Linked DNA regions of Homo sapiens: region 2 is linked to region 1. Evidence: promoter capture Hi-C in 16 types of primary human blood cells and fetal thymus (Javierre and others, 2016). All regions are on one chromosome and are shown on one strand. Each heading gives the region's core, a stretch centred on a gene start or on the middle of the fragment in contact. The rest is flanking DNA. Distances are from core to core; before and after follow the strand shown. Region 1 holds the start of C11orf58 (chromosome 11 open reading frame 58). Region 2 overlaps ZDHHC13 (zDHHC palmitoyltransferase 13).

Region 1 (4,876 bases), core at 1,197-3,696:
AGTCCCAATTCTGAAGGAGGTATTTCATTGTTTCACTCATGATAGTGTATCTTTGTTTTTACAATACAAGAAAGAGGAGCATTACTGAGTTTCTGTGGCATATATGCATTCTATTACACTGTATAATTTCATCCTTACCTATAGCCTTCTGTATATGAAACTGAGTAAAATCTGATAAAATGTCCCAGTCTTTAGTATTTCCTATGTTACTTTTTCGTTTGTGATCTTGTTTCACAGTAACTTGAAGATTTACCATCCAGGTGCCAACAATTCTGGTGAAGAAATAAAAGACATGTTGCTAGCTCATTAAAGTTTTCTGGACTTTCACCAACTAGTAAAATTAAAATTATATAGTAACTACTATTCTTATTGACAATCCTTTCTTATTTCAGAAATCTTTTAGCAGTCTAAAGTACCTATTCAGCCATCTTATTTGTTTTGGTAATATAGCTAATAGTTCTAAATCACCATTTGTCAAACCCATTAGAGGTGAACTGTAGTCGAAACTGCAAAACTCTGTAACTTAAATGTAATTTCATTGTAACTAATAGAACCTAAGTAGAATTATGTAGTAGTGAAAATATTTTAATTCTAGCAAAAAGCAATCAACCACTTCCTAAAACAATGTTTCTTTTTTTTCTCTTGGGTTTACTCTCCTCCTCCTTTATGATTTATTCTTACCACAGAACCATTAAGATGTTCTTTGTTTGGTTATACTTATAAAATGTAACCCTGACATCTCTTTTTCTATTATAGTACTTACTATTATGCTATTTTTCTGCTTCCAAAATAAGGGAGAATTTGAATCTATGACTGCATAAATTTAAAAACTACCTTCCACTGGTCACAGTTCAGTGAGGATCTGAAATCTAGGTAAGTAATATTTGTACACAGGCAGTGAAACTAGAGCAATTGCTGAGTTCAAAAGCTAATAGCTAAGCATTGTTTCACAGACTGCTCTCAGTTCTGAAACAGCAGATATGTATTATCCATACCACTTATTATTTATTTATTTATTTATTTAGAGACCGAGTCTCGTTCTGTCACCCAGGCTGGAGTGCAGTGGCGCCATCTTGGGTCGCTGAAACCTCCGCCTCCCGGGTTCAAGCGATTCTCCTGCCTCAGCCTCCCGAGTAGCTGGGATTAGAGGCATGTGCCATCATGCCAGGCTAATTTTTGTATTTTTAGTAGAGACGTGGTTTCACCATGTTGATCAGGCTGGTCTCGAACTCCTGACCTCGTGATCCACCCGCCTCAGCCTCCCAAAATGCTGGGGATTACAGGCCTGAGCCATGGCGCCAGGCCTAATTTTTGCTTAAAAAAAAAAAAAATCACATTTGTATTCAAGGTGAGAAAGCTTCAGAATTATTAAGGACAAGGATTCTGACAGAAAGTTAAGTTCAGACCTGGTTACAAATTCAGACACCTTAATAAAGTAGGAGATAGTCTTCAGTATCTGAACAATAAATAGCTTTAAATGCAGGGCTTTTTGAGTAGAGGAGTGATCACTTGAATCTGGAGAGAGGGCGAGAAATGGGGAGGGATTGCTAACGGGCATTGGGGTTCCTTTTGGAGTGGTGAAACTTCTTGGAATCAGAGGTGACAGCTGCACACGATTGTGAATGTACTAAGTGACAGTGGATTGTACACTTTTTAAAAAATGGTTAATTTTATATGTGAATTTAACCTCAATAATTACTTTTTTTAAAAAAGAAAAAAAATAGAGGCTTTTGTGGCAGGGATGGACTTTGCTTGGTGAAGGCCCCTACTGTAACGGTGCCCAGACATCCACAGCGAGGTCAGTGAGGAGCACTCCCACCTCACACAAAGCCATATGAAAACTTAACAGATTTCCCTCAGCTAAATCCCCGTTTTCAACAACCGCCAATTAGCCAACATTTAACAACATACTGAACTCATTTCTGTATGGGAAAACAGCGAAATATTCATGAAAACATTTAGAAAGCAGCATCACCGACCACCTAGAAATCCCCTGCGCGCAATAGAGAACACCAGGGTGGAAATGGTAGAAGCCATTTTTGGTTAAGGTTTTTGTCCTGGGTGGAGGGTATTCGTGAGGATTCAGTCAGCCTCAAACATTACATTTAAACATAGGTGCCTAGCTACGATGATACATTTGCCAGTAGGGCAGCGTTGCACGGTGAAAGGCAAAAACCCCTCTAAGCCTCCTCCTGTGGCGACAAAGCTCTCGGCCAACGCTCACCGCCATACACATCCGCGGGAACGCTTCCTCCACCAGCCGAAGGCGGGGCCTCTGAGGGCACTCCCGCCACACAGCGCGAATTGAGCCTCGGGGCTTCCTGGGAATTGTAGTTTTAGTCACGGACACATCTTTTTTATTCGGGCCAGTATGCAATGAATCAGAAAACTACAACTCCCAAAGTGCCCCGGGGCGGCGAGGGGCCGCAACGGTGACGACTGTGGCAGAGAAGGCCCGGAGGGGCTCTGCGTTCTGTAGTGGCGCTGCTTGGGCCCTTGGCGGATTGTAAGCTGCTGGTTTTGCGGCTGGGAAGAGCGGCGAGAGGGTTCGGCATTTTTCGTCGGGATCCCCGCAAGGATGAGTGCTGCCAGAGAGTCTCACCCGCATGGGGTGAAGCGTTCAGCCTCCCCAGACGACGATGTAAATAATAATGGCGGAGTGGCTGAGGGTTGAGGCCTACTAAAGCCTGGAGTAGGCCGGGAAGGGTGGTTGGAGGAGGACGCGCCTGAGGTGGCCTGCAGCGGGAGAGCCCAGGGAAGAAACCAGAAGAATGAGTGGGAAATGCCTCCCTTAATCTTTATGAGGGTCAGAAGGTTTGAAGAGGCCCACACGCTGAGAGCCGGAGACCTGCGTAGGAAGGGGGATTGAGGAAGGAAATTCTGAGAGGGTCGAGGAGTGAAAGAGCTTAGTCAAGGGATTTCGTACGTGCGTTTTGGGGGGCCGATGAGAGTGCTTTCTCGGGCCTTTGTACTCAGTATAGAGACGGCAAGACTCTCCCTGTTTTGGGTTCTAAATGTTCCCGTGACAATGTCGAAATGTTCGTGCACGTTTGTACAGATTTTTCCTGCCTGGATGATTTTTACAATGTGCTGTTGAGAGTTAACTTTAGCTGCACTAGTAAGGGTAAACCGAGAACAGTATTGAGCCGAAAATTGTGCCACGGGTGTAATTTGGTACTGGCTCTGGTGGTGAGGTCTAAGACGTTGAGACCTAGAAGCCCATTTTGATGTCGGATATTAATACCTCGTTCTTCTTACCTCGTCTCCCCATCAAATGCCGTTCCCTTCCTCAGCCCTCACCTCATAGGTTTTAATAGCAAACGGTTTATCCCTTAAAGTAACCCGTTAAATATTTACTGCACTGCCGGGTGTTGGGAATTCGGAGAGAAATATGATGCTTATTTTAGGCCTTTTTGTATATTTGTCCTAGCTCCTAGCCCAGTGTCATGGAAACGGTAGGTAACCAGTAAACGTAAAACTAGGTCCTTCATACAATGGATAAGTGTCTTGGCAACGTTGATGGGGAAAATTGTTGGAGAGAGCGCGGAGAGGTCATCTTTAAGGAAGATGAAGGGATATCTAGGTTTTTTTTCGGTTTTGTTTAAAGTACTGTCAATTTCTGAATACATAGAGCTTTAAATTTTTCGATAGTGCATTTCAACGCTCTTCATAAAATTTTAAAAGCCCACTGAATACTACTTTGTAGCAAATGAGATAATGTTAAGACCTACCCCTCTGATGGGAGGTGGGGCGAGGACCGGAATATTAAGGATCTTTAAAGGAATCGACTTCAGCTCTGCAGAAAGATTAGCAATCAGTAAAGATTTGGGGATGAATGGGCACCTAGAGAAGTTTATTCTTGCTCTCTGTTATTTCTGCTACTGGATTTTAGATCTTGTTAATATGGTAATTCAGGTTTTGTCAGGAATTGATCCACACTTTTGAGTAACCTGGCTGCCACTTAAAAAGCTGTTACATTGTTTTCCTCCTGATCTTTAAATGTGACTTGATTGCTAGGATATCAGACACCTGTTTGGAAATATCTTTTAGCGTGACAGAAAACTCCAGGTGATATGAAATTTAACAAAGTTAAAGGGATTAAGTCATTAAGTTTACAGCTTCGGAAGAGGTCGGTTTAAACTAGACGACCTTGAAGACCTTTCCCAATCATATAAGCGTATCTTTAAGTACCTGGGTTTTGTTTTTGTTTTGAGACAGGTGAGACAGGGTCTCTGTCGCCCAGGCTGGAGTGCAGTGGCACGATCGATCAGTGCTCCCTGCAGCCTCCACCTCCCTGGCTCAGGTGATCCTCCTGCTTCAACCCCCTCTTCCCCCACCACCACTACAGTAGCTCGGACTACAGGTGTGCACCATTACACCCGACTAATTTTTTGTATTTTTAGTAGAGACCAGATTTTGCCACATTGCCCAGGCTGGTCTCCAACTACTAGACCCAAGCGATCTGCCCACCTCGGCCTCCCAAAGTGCTGGAATTACAGGTGTGAGCCACCTCGCCCAGCCAGTACTTAAAAAAAAAATTTTTTTAACCATAAGTAATGCATTCATTAAAATACCTCCAAGCTGTTGCAGAAAAAAAAAAAAAAACTAGCAGGCCGGGCGCGGTGGCTCACTCCTGTAATCCCAACACTTTGGGAGGCCAAGGCAGGCGGATCACGAGGTCAGGAGATCCAAACCATCCTGGCTAACACAGTGAAACCCCGCCTCTACTAAAAAAATACAAAAAAATTAACCGGGCGTGGTAGCGGGCGCCTGTAGTCCCAGCTACTAGGGAGGCTGAGGCAGGAGAATGGCGTGAACCCGGGAGGCGGAGCTTGCAGTGAGCCAAGATGGCGCCACTGCACTCCAGCCTGGGCGA
Region 2 (4,876 bases), core at 1,028-3,527, 2.4 Mb after region 1:
TGGTACTTCTGTTAATGAGAACTTTAATGACATGAGAACTTTTAATGAGTGTCACATATTTCTCTCTCACTCGCTCCTTCTCTCTCACTCTCTTTTTATTCGATAATCTGGCAGGATAATGCCTGTCATTGGAGTTTAAGTGTGGTTTTCTAAATCTTGATTTTGGCTTAAATTAATGCCCACTGTAACTTTAACAATTCTTATATACAATTTAGAAAAATAATCTCATTCATGACATCTCTGTGTGAGAAGTATTACATGATCCCTCAGAGCTTAAAGATGCCCTAGTTATTTATTGTGTAAGAAACCACCTCAAAACATAGTGGTATAAAACATGGCTTTGTCATGCTCATGGACTCTGTGTGTCAGGGACTTGGAGAGACTGCAGCAGGGTTGGTTTGTTTCTGTTCCACCATGTCTAGAGCCTCAGCTGCAAAGACTCATAAGCTGGAGATGAATTGAGAGCTGGGGCCAGTATCTATGAGTGTCTTCACTTACATCTGGCAGTTAACTTTCAGTAGAGACACCTACACGTGACCTGGGCCTCTGCACAGTATAGTGGCTGAGTTCCATTAGTGACCATCTAATGAAAGAGCCAGGAAGAAGAAGCTGCCAGTTTCTAGGGCCTGAGCCTGCAAACTGGCACAGCATCACTTCTGAAATATATTATTTGTGAGGTAGTCACAAAGCTCAGAGTCAAGAGGAAGGGACATAGACCTTTACCTCTTGATGGAGAAGTAGCAAATAATTTTGAGGCTATGTTGTAAAAATTACCACACATGTATTCATATGTCTGTTAGATAATTTTCATAATATCTTGTTCTGCTTTTCACTCTTCTGTGGAGGACAGTGAGCTAGCTACATATTTCTTTCTTGGTATCTCTCTTTTTTCCCTCTTTAAATTTTTTTTCCCTTTGTATCTTAATTAAAACAAAAACAACAAAAAAACCATTTTATTCTAGTATCTTGAGGTGGTTGTAGACTGGAATCCTAGGAAGACGAGAGGAAGTAAAATGGAATAGAATCATAGAATACTTGGAGCTGGAAGGCTTTTCAGTGAATTACCTAGTTGAGAGATTCTTAAACTGGCATATAGGATAAGCTTCAGGGCGTTAGTGAACATCTTGAAATTAGTGAACATCTTGAAAAGTTAGTTTACATGTGCAGTTGTGCATTTCTCTTAAGTAGAGAGGCCTTAATTTTGGTAACATTTTCAAAAAGGTCCATGACATTTGGAAGGTTTGAGAACCATTTATCTAGTCTAGCCCTTTAACTTTTCCCATGAATTCAAGACGCAAAAATAATAACTTACTTTCCAAAGGTTCATGGCAAGTTAGCAGAGCCCAGGTGTCAGGGCTCCTGATGCAGTGCATTTTCATTGCTAGTCAGGTGGTCCAGTCATGATACGATCTTGTTTGATTGTTTGCTGCCACTTGGAGTCCACCCATTCTTTAGGTCAAGGTCTGAGGAGTAGTCTGTATTTTACTCTGCTCTGAAAATGGGGAAGGGAGTATATCCCTAACTAGAATATAAGTTCCTTGAAAACCAAGGACCTTGTCTGTTGTTCATTGCCATGTTGCTGTGTCTACAATAGTGCCCAGCACGTAGTAGGCATTCAGTAAATGTCTAGAATGAATGTATTATGGAAGGAACTGTGTCTTATTCATCTTTTATCCCTGATTACCTACTTCTGTGATTTGTATAGGTGTTCTTTATATTTCCCTGAATGAATAATTGATGAAAACTCTTGGGAGTTGGCTGGCATCATGAGAATTTGCTTAGTCTGTTCTGTTACCTTAACATTGTAGGCAGCCATGTAGCAGTTAAGCTTCTTTATCCATGTAGTGTGTTTGTTCATACAGTAAATTCTTTACCAGTTCACAAGTCAATAGTGACTATTGTAATAGCTCACCTTAGGACCATGCAACATGAGACTTAGAAGGAGCTTTATGGGTGTATTGATATGTCCCTTTCACTTTACCAACGTAGAAATGAGCCAAAAATAGAGTAGATGATTCACCACTATCATACAGTCAATGTGGCAGTACCAGGAATTTGGTTATTTGGCCCGTGTCATCAGTGCAATCAGGAGAGATTAGGCTGAGAGAATACTGTGGAAGCAGGGACTCAATGTGTCTTCTTCCCTATCTTTTGAGACTCAAGGTTACCTGTCTTCTTCTCTGTTGTGTCCTTGCCCTCCTTTTCCTGACCTTGCTTCACAGAAAACTTCACAGAAAATAAAAATTTCAGCTCTCTTCTGTTTGAACATGGGGATAGGAGCTGGCGGCCAATTTCATATTGTCGTGGGTCATGTTATTGTAGGATTTGACATGTATTTCTAAATTATATTCATTAACTAATAGCTCAGTATATGTTCATGGCAAGATTTGAATTAAAGATGGTGGTTATAAATCTGCCTCAATTTAGCCTCTTGACAATTTTGAATTTTTTCCAAGGGGGTACTGACTTGTCAGATTGGATTAGATCATCTTTGTTTATACTTCATGTGTCTGATAAAGAGTTCCTGATCTGCTATTTTCTTATTTGCTTGTGCTTATTATTATTATTATTATTACCTCAATTCATGGCTTCTTTGTAGAAATCAGCTTAAGCTACTTGCTCATTTTGGGAGAGGTAATTTAGTTAAAATTTAACAATATAATTTGAAAATAATCTAATATATATTGTAAAATGCTGAAGGTCCTACTGTCAACTCTCTGTTTGTGGAAGCTTTCTCTGCCCTTAGGTTACCTTGTAAACAGAGTATAAGGAGTGACCTGCTTGGCATATCAATAAATGAGACTGCCATCGTTAAAAATTAGTAAAGCTTTCCTGCCAGCAGAGGTGTGCTAAAAAGAAAAAATAAATTTGGTAAAGCTTTAAAAACTCAAATTTGTAAATTTTATTTTTCCTTTTTAAGTAAAAAGATAAAAAATTATTATAATAGAAGCTTTAACATTTTCTCACATTACCTAGTGGGTCACTGCATATATGGCTTTGAGTGTACTTTCCTCACTTTGTAGATGATTGACTTCAAACACAAGCTTTGAATATAGTCATTTTTAGGTTTTACTTTGATCTGCATGCGGGTAAACAATGATGACATGAACGGAAGATATCTTCTGTTTTCTAGTTTCTTAAAGTTGCCATTTAATCATATATAATCACATATTGCCTGCTATTATTATTTCACTCTGTCTCTGACATATCTCCCTTATTAGACTTAAATTCCTGGAGGATAGACACCCATGTCTTATATGCCCTTAGCGTAATTGTACATCATAAATACACAGTAATTAATTGCCGACTAAACAAATATTCTCAATTGTGGATATTCTTCACATTAAAACATGTAAACCTCCTCAACTTTATACATGAAAAATAAAGCTGATGTCCTTAATGCCTTAAAATAGTATAAGAAGCAACAAATTTGTATCTAGAATGAGTCAGTTTTCTGTGATGAAAAATCTGTGTATAAACAAAGGGTCAGGGTGGGGTGTGGTGGCTCATGCCTGTAACCCTAGTGCTTTGGGAGGCCAAGACGGAAGGATAACTTGAGGTCAGGAGTTTAAGACCAGTCTGGGCAACATAACGAGACCAGTCTGGGCAACATAACGAGACCTATCTACAGAAGAATAAAAAAATCAGCAGGGTGTGGTAGTGCTTGCTTATAGTCCTACCTACTACGGTGGGTCAGGTGGTAGAATCACTTGAGCCCAGCAGATAGGGCTGTAGTGAGATTTGATGGTGCCACTGCACTCCAGCCTGGGTGACGGAGTAATACCCCATCTCAAAAACAAAACAAAAAAGGCTTAATCTTTCTAACCTACAAAGAGAAACAGATATGTGCAATTCATTAGAAAAACAAGTAGACTATGAAAAGGCAATCCACAAAAGAGAAAATATGGAGAGCCAGTATACCTAACAACAACAACAACAACAAACAAAACACTCAGACTCATTAGCAACTAGGGGAGTACAGGTGAAAGATAGGATGCCATTTTTAGCCATCAAAGTGTCAAGGTTGTAAAAAGATTGATAATATTCAGTTCTGGGAAGGTTTGTAGGGAGAAAGAACACGTATATACTTTGCTATTGGGACTGTGAATTGGGGAGAGTATTTGGTCAGAATCTATTTATGTTTAAAATGCACGTTTTTTGACTCAACAGTCCTACTTTGAGGAATCAATCCTATAGAATTAGAATGCCCAGGGTGTTGATTGTGTATAGATATGAAAGGCTGAAATCAACCTGTGTCTCTAACCAAAGGGGAGTGTTGAATGAATTATACTAGATCTATATACAATGGAACAATAGTGAAATATTACTGAACTGCAGGACTGTACATGATATATTGTTACATGAGAAAAGCAAGTTGAAGAATAATGTATATAATGTGATACTATTCTTTGTTCAATAAGTATAAGAAGAAAATGATTAAAAATGTGGATGTATGTATGTATATAGCACAATATTATATATGTTAAAATATATATACATAATGAGGGAAGATGCACCCAATTGTTAATAATGGTTATCTCTGGTGGTACAGTATTGAAGAGGAAAGAGTCCGGATTGTTAACCCTGTATTCACTTCTGTATTGCTAGATCTTTAAAATTAATATGTTATCATTTTATGGTTTTAAAATTCTAGTAAAAATTTTTTATATAAAAATACACTGATTTTTTTTGTCAATCTTAGCTGCACTTTTTGTTATACCTGTTACTTATTGAGATTCTAGAAATTTTTAGTATAGTTCAACTCTTTTCCTCAACCCTTTGCCTTCTTCCAATTGAATATAATTACTGTGATATCAGGAAAAGCATCCTAAAGTAATGTTTTTATTTACATTTTAATCTAACTACCTACATGTTT

What was found. The method cuts DNA at HindIII sites, captures the fragments that hold promoters and counts their contacts. A CHiCAGO score of 5 or more calls a contact.
Region 2: a fragment that was not itself captured here is called in contact with the fragment with the promoter of C11orf58 in region 1 in 4 of 17 cell types (non-activated CD4 T cells, total CD8 T cells, fetal thymus and 1 more); the score reaches 10.7 in non-activated CD4 T cells.

What each region holds. Positions count from the first base shown.
Region 1 is chr11:16,736,201-16,741,076 of GRCh38, forward strand. It overlaps C11orf58 (chromosome 11 open reading frame 58), which reads left to right and starts at 2,447. Exons shown (of 5, transcript NM_014267.6): 1 at 2,447-2,641. The coding sequence starts at 2,579. It also overlaps a transcript of SOX6 not described here. RefSeq lists an enhancer at 2,321-2,950. The HindIII fragment of the contact is 4,072 bases long and covers 1,356-4,876 here.
Region 2 is chr11:19,119,855-19,124,730 of GRCh38, forward strand. The region is part of intron 1 of ZDHHC13 (zDHHC palmitoyltransferase 13); the gene reads left to right. Among named protein-coding and RNA genes, the nearest start is that of ZDHHC13, 5.1 kb to the left of the region's middle. The HindIII fragment of the contact is 902 bases long and covers 1,827-2,728 here.